Linked DNA regions of Homo sapiens: regions 1 and 2 are each linked to region 3. Evidence: promoter capture Hi-C in human tissues and cell types (Jung and others, 2019). All regions are on one chromosome and are shown on one strand. The core of a region is centred on a gene start or on the middle of the fragment in contact, and the rest is flanking DNA. Distances in the headings are between cores, read along the strand shown. Region 1 holds the start of SPAG11B (sperm associated antigen 11B). Region 2 holds the start of DEFB106B (defensin beta 106B). Region 3 holds the start of DEFB104A (defensin beta 104A).

Region 1 (3,747 bases), core at 875-3,374, 370 kb after region 3:
GAATATTCTATAATGGGTTCTGCCATCCTCCCCCTCAGGATGGATGTGGCTTTTAGCAAGAGAATTATTCAAAGATTTTTTTAGGACACAGAAATCTGGCAGAAGAGGACAGGAGCTGAGAGCATTGTTGTGTTAGGACAGATGTAACATTAATTGCCTTTATTACGACTTCACCAGCTTTTGCCTGTCAAAGAGCAGAACTAGGCTTTCCCGGCTGCTCTTTTTTAAGATTGTTCTTTTCAGAAGCATGGAAGAGGGGGCTTACTTTATCTCAAGACGTAGACAAAGGAAGTGAGATCTAACTATTTTTGGCTCAGTTTCTTCATTTAAATAATTTCAAATAATTCTAACGACTTCAAAGAAGATTCCGTTACCTGGGTGGTAATTACTCAAATGCTGTTATATTTTAAGTCATGATTTTGATTAATGATTCATTACTATTAATATCTGAATGGTGGAATAGGCTTGTTTTTGTTTTCTTTCCTTTTATAGAGAAGATAAAAATATATAGAAATAAGTTACCAATATACTCCAAAATTTCCATCACTGTTATAAAAGATCCACATTCCAAGTTTAAATAATTACAAATACAACTGTAAGAAGTTGCTATTGAACTAGAGTACAAAAAATACCCAGAGTATGTAGATGAGCGAATAAATCTTCATTTAGGGTTGAGGTAGAGCAGCTGTCTACCTCCTTTCTTGACTGTCTATGTTCTTCCAACATCCAATTATCAGAATTTGATGCAGTAAGTGATTAAAGAAACTTATCATGGGCCAGTTGTCACCTATCTCCGCAGTGTTGCCCTGTGCTCTTGGAATTGGAAGACTTCCTAATTCCTTAAAGTGAAAGGATGTGAATGATGCTCCTGCTCTCCCTGACCAGCACCTCATGCTTTGCAGTGGAGAATCTGTCCTGAGACCCAAAAGATAGTGGCCTCCGCATTGTGCTGCCAGGGCAGCTGCTATGTGCAACTGTCCGCAGCTGCAAACCTTCCGCCCTTTGCTGGTGCTTCAGCGGATGCCCAGGTCTCTATTGTCATTGCTGCCTCTTTCTCCATTTGCTTCCAGCTTTCTCCAGGTAGAGAGTAAGTATTTTTATTTACACAAATGACCTAAGTTGTTTTCTCTGTCTGGATTAAAATATACATGCAAATGAGACATATGAGATAAGCACTATCTTTTCCAGACATCACTGATGTTACATTGGATGCTATGTGAATACAAAACTCTTCAACCAAAGCCTTCTTCACTTTAGTTAAGTCCAGAGCAGACTGTCTGGGTTACATGCATACCTGAGCTAATGCAGCCAAGTAAGAAACACACACTTGGTTAAAATGCTTAAAAAGATGAAGGAGAAGGGAAGACAAGTCCTCTGCTTGGATATTACTAGAGGAGAAAACCCAGACTCAAACACAGATTTTTTTTTTCTTTTTTAAAAGAATTGAATTGGACCCAGTGACATCAACAGGAGGTGTCTGGGGGTAAAGAGAATGGAAAGGGGAGAGAAAAATCAAGACAACTCAAATAAGTTAAAATAGAAAGGAGGGGGGTCCAAAGTGAGGAAGGAGAAGTGGAGGGGACCAAGAAACAGGGAGAGAGACTCAGAGAGGAGAAGAAAAAGAAAAGAACATTTTGAGCAGCCTTGGAACTCTCTGTATAACTTCAGGAAGGGATAGTTTGTAAAACCAGGTCCTACCTGTTATGTTGTGTGTCTTATGCATGATTTTTTAACACTAAAATAAAAACGCTCAGCCAACAGGATAGAATCGACATGGCAGTTTATTTATGTCCCTGTTCTCATGAACATTAGGGGGCTTTTGAGAAGCGTTTGAGGACATTGGCAACTTTATGATAGTTATGTTTGTTCTGCCCCTCCATGCCTTTCATCTTTCTGTTTCTCTCTGTTCTTCCTTATTCACCAAACCCACCCAAGGCATTCAGGCGTATTATTTACTTCCTGAAATATGTGTCTCAAGTGTTTGTTCCACCAGCAGTGGGATAGTAGCGTGTCCACATTGTCCTTTGAGAATGAGAAGTCATCCTGGAGCACAGCTCTTCCCACGCTCCGGGCCCACACACCCAGCCTCACTCCATCAAAGGAGCCCCGCTGCCTGCCCACCCACCCTGGGTGCTTTCTGGCTTGCAGTGCTCTTGGCAGACATGAGGCAACGATTGCTCCCGTCCGTCACCAGCCTTCTCCTTGTGGCCCTGCTGTTTCCAGGTAAAATGGAAAGGTGACCCGGGTCTGGGTGCCAGAATCTCTCTGCAATGGTCATCTGAGGTATGGGAGTCCAGGCTGGACAGGGAGAGATGAAGTCCTTGGGGCATGTATTCCTGGTGGAGCTTTGGGTACGAGTCTCTGAACTGGGTTCATAAATGGCACTCTGAATTGGCTGATGGCACTTGCTTCCCAGGGAAGAGTGTCCCTCCCCGACTCCATTTTCTTATCCTTTTAACATTCCCCTTTCCCTTACAGAGAAGAACATTACATTTTAGGGAATCTTAACAACTGCATTAGTGACACTTGAAATAAATTCTCTGGCTGTGCTGGCTTTGAGGAGGTGCTCAGACTCACCATTCATGGCATACATTTCTTACACTTCATTCACCTTCTCTCTCTACACATAGGTGCATACAACGCATGTGCACAAACGTGCACACACACGGAACACTAGCACCCCTCCCAACTCCCCCACCCAATCACCCATGCTCACTCACCTGGTAGAGTGTAGGTGCCTCATGCTGACGGGTCTGCCAGGCGGAGGCCTCAGAGCATCCTCAGACGTGTGTTTCCACTTGCACAGGATCGTCTCAAGCCAGACATGTGAACCACTCAGCCACTGAGGCTCTCGGAGAACTCAGGGAAAGAGCCCCTGGGCAAGGCACAAACGGGTTTCAGCTGCTACGCCACGCAGTGAAACGGGACCTCTTACCACCGCGCACCCCACCTTACCAAGGTGAGTCAGGGACCAACACGTGCAACAAGTGCATCCACTGGGGAGACGTAGAGGGAACAAATAGACGGGAAGATGTCTGTGCTGGTCGGGGTGGGTGAGCAGTCATTGTTTGGGGAAGACATGGTGCGGGTGCATTGGGCTGCCCTGCCTGTCAGGGAGACCACGGGGTCTCACAGCTTCCCCTGGGGCTGGATCATTGAGGGCCTTGTGGAACGTGGGAGTATTGAGGGGCCAAAAGGCAATTTATCTGAAGCCACACCTGTAATTGCTGGCTTCCTCCAAGAACAGGTGCCAGAGGAGACACTGGTGGAAACATGGCCTCCTGCCAGGTTGCAGCCCCATGCCCTTAGCTTTGGAGGTCGTTCCCGTTCAAGGAATTTACTGAATACCTACCTACTAAGTTTCAGGTGTCCATTGAGGTCTGGGAAATGCTTCCTGAGAATGGGGGCAGAGAATAGACTGTATTGTCAGTCTACTCAGGCAAGGAGGTAGCAGGACATGGCAAGGGACAATTGAGCCCACAGCCACTCTTCTGGACTCTTCCAGAAGGGCCAGGCTTCTGGTCAGCCCCCAAACCCCTGGGCAGGACCAGCTTCAAATCCAAAAGGGCCTGGAAGAGCCTGTAGTTTCCAAGATGCTTCTTTAATGCCAAGCTGATTGCTGACCCTAAGACAGGGAGAACTAGGTTAGCAGATCAGTGGGCAAGAGCAAGAAAGACAGGAGGGTGTTGGCAAATTGCTGTGACATCCAGCAAATAAAGTCCTGCTGAATTTGATGCCTGCAGCATC
Region 2 (4,077 bases), core at 391-2,890, 350 kb after region 3:
AGGAGACAGTAGATCACAGAGTTGCAATCTTTATTCTGTTTCTCAAGGCCAGCATTCCAGGTAACCAGCAAAAACAAATTACAAAAAAAAAAAAATACACTATATGCTGTTTGCTCTTAGTAAATGTCACTGTAGGTCTAAGAAATTCCCATGACAGGTGCCATGAGAGCTTGACCATTAAGGTCAAACATGGAAGAATCAACAGGCTTTATAATCTGCCCAATCAAAATCCCATCCATTTTTACTTACCTGATGGCAGTTGAACCAAAATGAAGAACATAGCAAATAGAAAATAAAATGTCTTCCTGATCAGGGCCATCTTTTAGGGAAGACTCTTCGGAATAGAGATTGGGATTTCCTTGAGAAGACCCAAATGAGAGGCTCATTTTTATTTAAAAGTAATGGGGAGATGCTCTTGATCCGTGAAGTGAATCAATAAAACACAATTATATGCTCCATTTCCCAGGATAAAGGGATGATATCATGGATAATAACCCTTGGCATCCAGAAAGCCTTTTATTTTGGGGAGTCTAACTGGTGTAGTGGAAAGAACACCAGGCTAGAGGTTGAAAGAGCAGGGGCCATGTGAGTTTCCACCATACTAATGCAGGGGCCAGAAGATAGTGACCCCTTTCATCTCTTCCAGCTTCTGTTTTCTGGGAGAAAATAAGAACCCACTTGCAAATTCTGCCTGCCTCTAAAGGTGTTGTAAGAATCTAGTATGATTATAATGCAAAAGTGTTTTGAATATGTGGAATGCTTGGAAGGAGGCCTGGTACCATGTAAGAACTCAATAAATGTGGACTCTCACTTTTCTAGCTTTCATTTTTATTCTCTACAAGTATCACAGGGAGAAAAGGAGGGGTAGCAATCATTTTGTCAAGTTAGCTCTGAGTCCCCTTTCCTGTAAGATATCACCTCACGCACCAAAGCCATAATTACTGCATATTTTAAATTCATTAAGGACATGAATATTGGCCCAGATGGGTGGCTTATGTCTATTATCGTAGCTTTTGGGAGCCTAAGGCAGGTAGATTGCTTGAGCCCAGGTGTCTAGGGCAAGGCATGATGGTTACCAGCCCCTTGCTGCGCCAACAGTGCCATGGTACAGGTGAGCAGCATGGCAGGACCAAGCACGAAAAGCGTGCAGCATACAGCAAGATTCACATTTTTTAACAAATATATGCTTAGGTCAAGCCCTTTGCCAAGTTTACAAAGCTCAAAAAGACTGAATCTGGAATTCAGATTCCACCTCACTACGGTTCCTCAGCTCTTAACTGAAGCATTGAGATATTGTATAATTACTCCCATTTTACATATGAGTAAACCAAAGCTGTTCAGGAACACAGCCAGGATTAGAAACGAAACTACTGGACTCCAGATTTTTTTATTTTTTCTGTGTCTGCCCTACTCTGTCCTCCCTTCATCCCCACTTTCCTTCTTCAAAACTTTCCAGAATCAGAAATATGATGAGCTGTAGACTGAGTGACACCCACTGAGGTTGGGTGGGCTCTGTGCAGCAGAGCATGGAAATCCTCTCGTTTCTGCTAAGCCTCACTGATCAAGATGTTACTTGGTCTGGAGAAATGTATAAATGTGGGTGTTTGCGGCTCTTTCCTCATGGACACGGTGCTGATCTCTCAAGACCCACCCAGTCATGAGGACTTTCCTCTTTCTCTTTGCCGTGCTCTTCTTTCTGACCCCAGGTAAAATGGGCATCTTTACAGGGAAGGTGATCGGAGGTGGTGTCCCACAGACAGGGTCCCCTTCAGTGAATGCCTGGGCGTGATCAACCCATCTACTACAAGAGGTGATATCCCCCAACGCCTCTTCTGTAATTCCTTTGCATTTTACATTGTTATCTAGGAGGGGCTGTCACAGGTTTGAAAGAATAAAAGAAGGCCAGGAAAGATGCCTTTTGGCATCCCATCTCATGCTCACTAACAAAAACAAAAATTGAGAAAAAATTAAAAACAAGGATAGCAGTCTATGAACCTTTTAAAATGTAGTTATGGTAGAGATTGAGACAGGTAAGGAGAAGGGACAGGTAAGGATCTGAGCTTAGAGACACCTATGCACTCATGCCAGTCATGGCAACAGGTAAAGCAGCGTAACTTGGACTGCCATTTCTTGATCACATATCATCAAGCCAAGTACTGTGATGAGAGCTTCACATAAAATGCATCTAGTCTTCCAGTGCCAGCGCCTTTACGGAAAACTCTGTCTTACCCCTAATTTAATGGAAGTTAGAGAAAATCTTTTTGGGTTTGAAGGTCCATTTTACAAATTTTATTACAGATGCAGAAATTGTGCCTCAGATGGGCTCAGTGCTTCTCAGAGTCTTATAGATAACCAAAACAAAGCCAGGGTAGGAGCCCAACTGTCTTGCCACAGTAAGAGGCATTAAAGACACCCTTCCCATATCAAAACTCTCTTCATTTTCTCCTGCTCCTGGGAATCTCCAGTGGCTCCAATTGTATCCTCTTCAAAATTAAGGCTTAAGACCAGGCTCATGTGAGCCTCCAGAGAGCTGAAGAAAGGGATTCTCAGAGCCCACAGTAACTCCCAATTTGTGCCAGATACCAGTGATATACGATCCCAGGTATGATGCTCAACTTTTCACATCAGCTGCTCATAGCTCTGGTCTGTTTTGTGACAAGCCTGTGAGAGTAGATTCTGTGTCAAAACATGAGGATCTAGGACCCACAGTGACCTATGCCGTATTCAGGCCACTGGTTTTGATATGCACGTTCGAAACTGGCCAGAGGTATCTTTTTCAGATCACTCATACTTATTATATAATAAGTCAAAAAAAAGATGTTATATTCTATAAAATTATCTGTTAGATAATACTATAATTATAAAAGTATAATTAGTTACTATAATTATTATGTAATTACAGATACTTATCTATAATTACATAATGCTTGTTATATAATTATTAGATAATCTAATAATTACCTATTAGATATACTAGAGTATAATACTATAATACAATAGTATTAGAGAAAATCTTTTTGGTTTAGTTTAGTATTATAGTATAGCATAGTATATACTATAATTATTTACTGATGTTACAGTATGGTATTGTACTAGTATTATATACTATATAGTATTGTACTAGTATATATTTTATATATATATATATACATATTTTTTTTTTTTTTTGAGATAGAGTCTCACTCTGTTCCCCGGGCTGGAGTGCAGTTTCACAATCTCAGCTCACTGCAACCTCTGCCACCGGGGTTCATGCGATTCTCCTGCCTCAGCCTCCTGAGTAGCTGGGATTACAGGCATGTGCCACCTTGCCTGGCTAATTTTTTGTATTTTTAGTAGAGACGGGGTTTCACCGTGTTGGTCAGCCTGGTCTCGAACTCCTGACCTCGTGATCCACCCTCCTCAGCCTCCCAAAGTGCTGGGATTATAGGTGTGAGACACTGCACCTGGCCAGATACTATATTATACTAGTATATTATTACTAGTAGTATTATATACTAGTATGTAATATAGTATATATACTAGTATAATACTCTAGTATATAGCATAGTATACATACTAGTATAATACTCTAGTATATAGCATAGTATACATACTAGTATAATACTCTAGTATATAGTATAGTGTATATACTAGTATAATACACAAGTATATAGTATAGTGTATATACTAGTATAATACACTAGTATATAGTATAGTGTATATACTAGTACATACACTAGTATACAGTATAGTGTATATACTAGTATAATACTCTAGCATATAGTATAGTGTATTATACTAGTATAATACACTAGTATATAGTATAGTGTATATACTAGTATAATACACTAGTATATAGTATAGTGTATATACTAGTATAATACACTAATATATAGTATAGTATATATACTATTATAATACTCTAGTATATAGTATATATACTAGTATAATACTCTAGTATATAGTATAGTATATATACTGGTATGATAATATAGTATATATACTATATTATTACTAGTAGTATTATATACTAGTACATAGTATAGTGTACATACTAGTATAATACACTAGTATATAGTATAGTATACTAGTATAATA
Region 3 (3,509 bases), core at 335-2,834:
AGATTAAATTTTAAGAGCCCTGGCTGAGGAGGGAGTCCATTTAGATGGTTGGGGAGGGGGCTTAGAATTTTATTTTTGGTTGACAGCACCCATCCCCAGTCCCTGTGGGTATCTGAGGGGCTGACAGTGTGTGACAGCCAAACTTACCCAAAGCAGGGGTGGCAGGAGAAGAGGCAGGCAGCGCATGTCATTCACCCTCACCCACTTCTGCCACTTCCCTCCCTAATCCTCTTCCTGCTAATGGTCTTTCTCAGAATTCAACTGCAGAGGACAGTCTGACCCAGCCCTCTGCAGCCAAGTGTGGATAATGGCAGCCAGCTCTGCGGTGCATTCTTCGGGATCTGGAGGGATCCCTGACCCAGGCTTTCCATCCCAAGTTCTTTGTCTTGGGATCAAAGGTTGAAGAAAACCTGTTCTTTGATAAATTGCTATCATATTTTAACAGACCTGGAACATGCCCATAGCAGAATTTCACAGAAGTGTCTTTGGGAAATGACACGGGAAGAAAGAAAAAGGAAGAGTTAACCTAAACAGGTACCCTCTGAAAAAAAATCATTAACCCATCTGAATCACAGTGGAGGCACAGCCCGGAAGGGCAAAAAGATGGGTGCTGGGTGTCTGTCAAAGCCCCATAAAATTGACTGAGCAGCTTGGAAGAGAAGATCCGATGGCTTCTACGAGTCAAAACAATTGGTTTCGTCCCAGCACTGCTAGACTTGTTAAGCAACTCTAAAAATCTTATTTTCTCTCACTGTACCATAGAGAATGCTGCTCAGCTTGTAAAAGAAGGGAATTAGATTAGGTGCTCTCTCATATCCATTGCAAATATATTAAGAAATACATGCTTCTGGGGACATAGATTAACGTAGGAGTCAGAAGATTGCTGACATCTCAGTCTAAAATTTCCTGAGCAGAGTTCAAAGGCACCTGCTATTTGTGTTGTCAGTAAATTACGTTCTTGCCTACTGAAATCACTGCATCCCCTTTAACCCTAATCATCTGACTTGATATGAAAAGTTGCAAAATTTAGGAGGATGAGTAGGCGCCCTTTTCTGTGCAGAGTAAAGCTGTTCAGAAGGAGGAGGATGGGGGAAGGCATCTTATTCTACAAAATCAACAATGAATAATTGCTGTTGCCCTGCAATGGAACAAGCATGGCTAGTGAGTCCTCATTGCTGAGGATTCCATGAGGAATTGTTACCGTGTGTGGCCAGGGTGCCAAGGACATCTAGGACTCCTGATCCCTACGTTTCTTTTTTCCTCCTTGAGCTAGTAAGCCTCGTGGCTGTAAGGTGCATACAAGGACTGCCACATACTGCATTTTACTAATGGACCCAATGAAAGCAAAGAGAAAAAAGGCTGAGATTGAAGAAGGTTACTCCATCCTTCAGGATTTATTTTCTAAATCAAATGTTTTTCTTCTCCCCCTGTCATCCCCAGCAACTGTGTATATTTCCAGCTGAGAGTCCCTTTTTACCTGGAAGATCTTGATAGAGTAGAAGAGAAATGGCTAATAGCAGCACAAGTCTCTGCATAATGCTGGGGCTGCTGGCGAGAAGCAGACGCAAGTCGGAGGGAATCACCCCAGGCAGGAGCAGGGCAGGTGTATTTATGGGCAGAGGCTGCTCTTGATTACTGAGGCTTATCAAAATGCAGCGTTCCTTGGTGAACACTCACCAAGGCACAGTGTGGGGGAGGTGTTGGGGCTACAGAAATGCCAGCTGGGCAGTGTTGAGGGTGGGGAGAGAGTATTACCATAGGTAAAGTCCAAGTCACTTCACTTGCTTCCCTGAATCGTTTCTGAAGCAAGAACTGGATTAGATGATCTCTAAGATACCTTCCAGCCTTGACATTCCTCAATTCTGGTGAGAGGACTTTCTCTTCCATTTCAGTACATTTCAGTCAGGAGATTCTTGTTGAAAATTGTGATGTGGCTAATGGAATTGAAGTCCATAGCCCCCAAGACCTCTCTGAAGTAAACATTGAAACAAACATACAATGTCAAGGAGAAGAATGGCATGGAGCGTGGGGAGGTCATAAATGCGTGAAAGGTCCCAGGACATTTCTGTGATAGAAAGAGTGTAGGATGAGGATGACAAGTGACAACAAGGAATACTTGATGGCGGGCATTGTCCAAGGGTGGGATTGTAACCACAGAGCATCAGGCTCACTTAGGGCTTAGGTGAAAAGGAGGACAAGAATGAGAAGAGAGGTTAAAAGGAGACAATTCATGAGAATGCTGTATTTCTAACAATGGCTTCAAATAAAACATAACCTTCCAGAGAGCATACGCCTGGCCCTCAACCCGGGGTGTATGCTCCCTGGATTTAACCCCAACCCCACCCGAGGCAAAACATATAGAGCATATGCTCCTGGCATTTGCCCTTAGGGAAAACACCAGATAATTTTATTTTAAGAAAAAAAAAATACTTCATTTCTCTAAAATGAAGTACTTTAGAGAAAGTAAAAACGTCCAATCTTGAAAGTTGACATTCTCGAATAAGCTCCCCTTATTCTAGAACACAGATTAGACAAAGCCTGACAGACATACGTTGCTTGCACATCCTAAGCAAAATCTAGCAGTCAGTGTGTCTTCCCCAGAGTTCTCACTTAGGGGAGAATGTGATGGAAAACCAGGTCTCCTTTCACAGTAACGAAATAGAATAGAACATCAGAAATCATAAACTATGCCAGTTTGGGTGCTCCATGAAGCATTTATCAACAGGAATTAGAAAGGAAATAAATTTATTGGGAAATGCCTGTGAAAGATAAAGGGGAGCCAGGCGCAGTGGCTCACACCTGTAAATCTCAGCACTTGGGGAGGCTGAGCGAGGGAGGAGGATCATGTGAGCTCAGGGGTTTGAGTCCATCATGGACGGCATAGAGAGACCCCGACTCTACACAAAAAGAAAATTAGCCAGGGATGGTGGTGTGTCCCTGTAGTCCCAGCTACTTGGGAGGCTGAGGCAGGGGGGTCTCTTGAGCCCGGAAGTTCGAGGTTGCAGTAAGCTATGATGGCACTACTGCACTCCAGTGTAGTAGGCAATACAGCAAAACCTTGTCTCTGAAAAAAATAAAATAAAATAAAAATTCAAAACAAAAAGATGAAGGGGAGAGGGAGCAAGATTGAGTAGGGAAAGTCTTCAGAACATGATGTCAATTAACACCTGTGAAAAGGTTTGGAGTCGGGGGAGCCTCAGACTACAGTGCAGAAAATTTCAGCATTGCCAGTGGGGAACCCCAGGGCAAAGACTGTCCTACACCAGCAGACATGGCCCAGCTCTAGTCCACATTGTGCTCATTCACTGCCTGGAAGCAGCCAGGGCAAGAGTGGTAGCCATGGGAATCCTGCCGCAGGTTACAAACGTGCAGCACGTAGAGGCCGTCGGATACTCTCCTCACAGCAGACACACAGCAAGCACAAATGTGCAGGATCCATGGGACCCTCCTAGCCTGCCACATGTCAGGCTTTAGTAATTTTTGATGATGAGCTTCAAGGGAAAAACATC

The links. Contacts are between HindIII fragments. The study calls those that stand out against the background at their distance.
Region 1: a contact is called between the fragment with the promoter of SPAG11B here and the fragment with the promoter of DEFB104A in region 3, in 15 of the 25 tissues and cell types used here (H1 embryonic stem cells, adrenal gland, aorta and 12 more).
Region 2: a contact is called between the fragment with the promoter of DEFB106B here and the fragment with the promoter of DEFB104A in region 3, in 20 of the 25 tissues and cell types used here (H1 embryonic stem cells, IMR-90 fibroblasts, adrenal gland and 17 more).

The regions. Positions count from the first base shown.
Region 1 is chr8:7,461,919-7,465,665 of GRCh38, reverse strand. SPAG11B (sperm associated antigen 11B) reads left to right here and starts at 2,124. Exons shown (of 3, transcript NM_058201.4): 1 at 2,124-2,223; 2 at 2,807-2,959. The coding sequence starts at 2,163. The HindIII fragment of the contact is 17,874 bases long and covers 1-3,747 here.
Region 2 is chr8:7,483,963-7,488,039 of GRCh38, reverse strand. It overlaps DEFB106B (defensin beta 106B), which reads left to right and starts at 1,640. Exons shown (of 2, transcript NM_001040704.2): 1 at 1,640-1,706. The coding sequence starts at 1,658. It overlaps DEFB105B (defensin beta 105B), which reads right to left and starts at 361. Exons shown (of 3, transcript NM_001040703.3): 1 at 250-361. The coding sequence starts at 319. The HindIII fragment of the contact is 12,606 bases long and covers 1-4,077 here.
Region 3 is chr8:7,834,511-7,838,019 of GRCh38, reverse strand. It overlaps DEFB104A (defensin beta 104A), which reads right to left and starts at 1,584. Exons shown (of 2, transcript NM_080389.3): 1 at 1,478-1,584. The coding sequence starts at 1,535. It also overlaps the pseudogene LOC124901865. The HindIII fragment of the contact is 6,880 bases long and covers 1-3,509 here.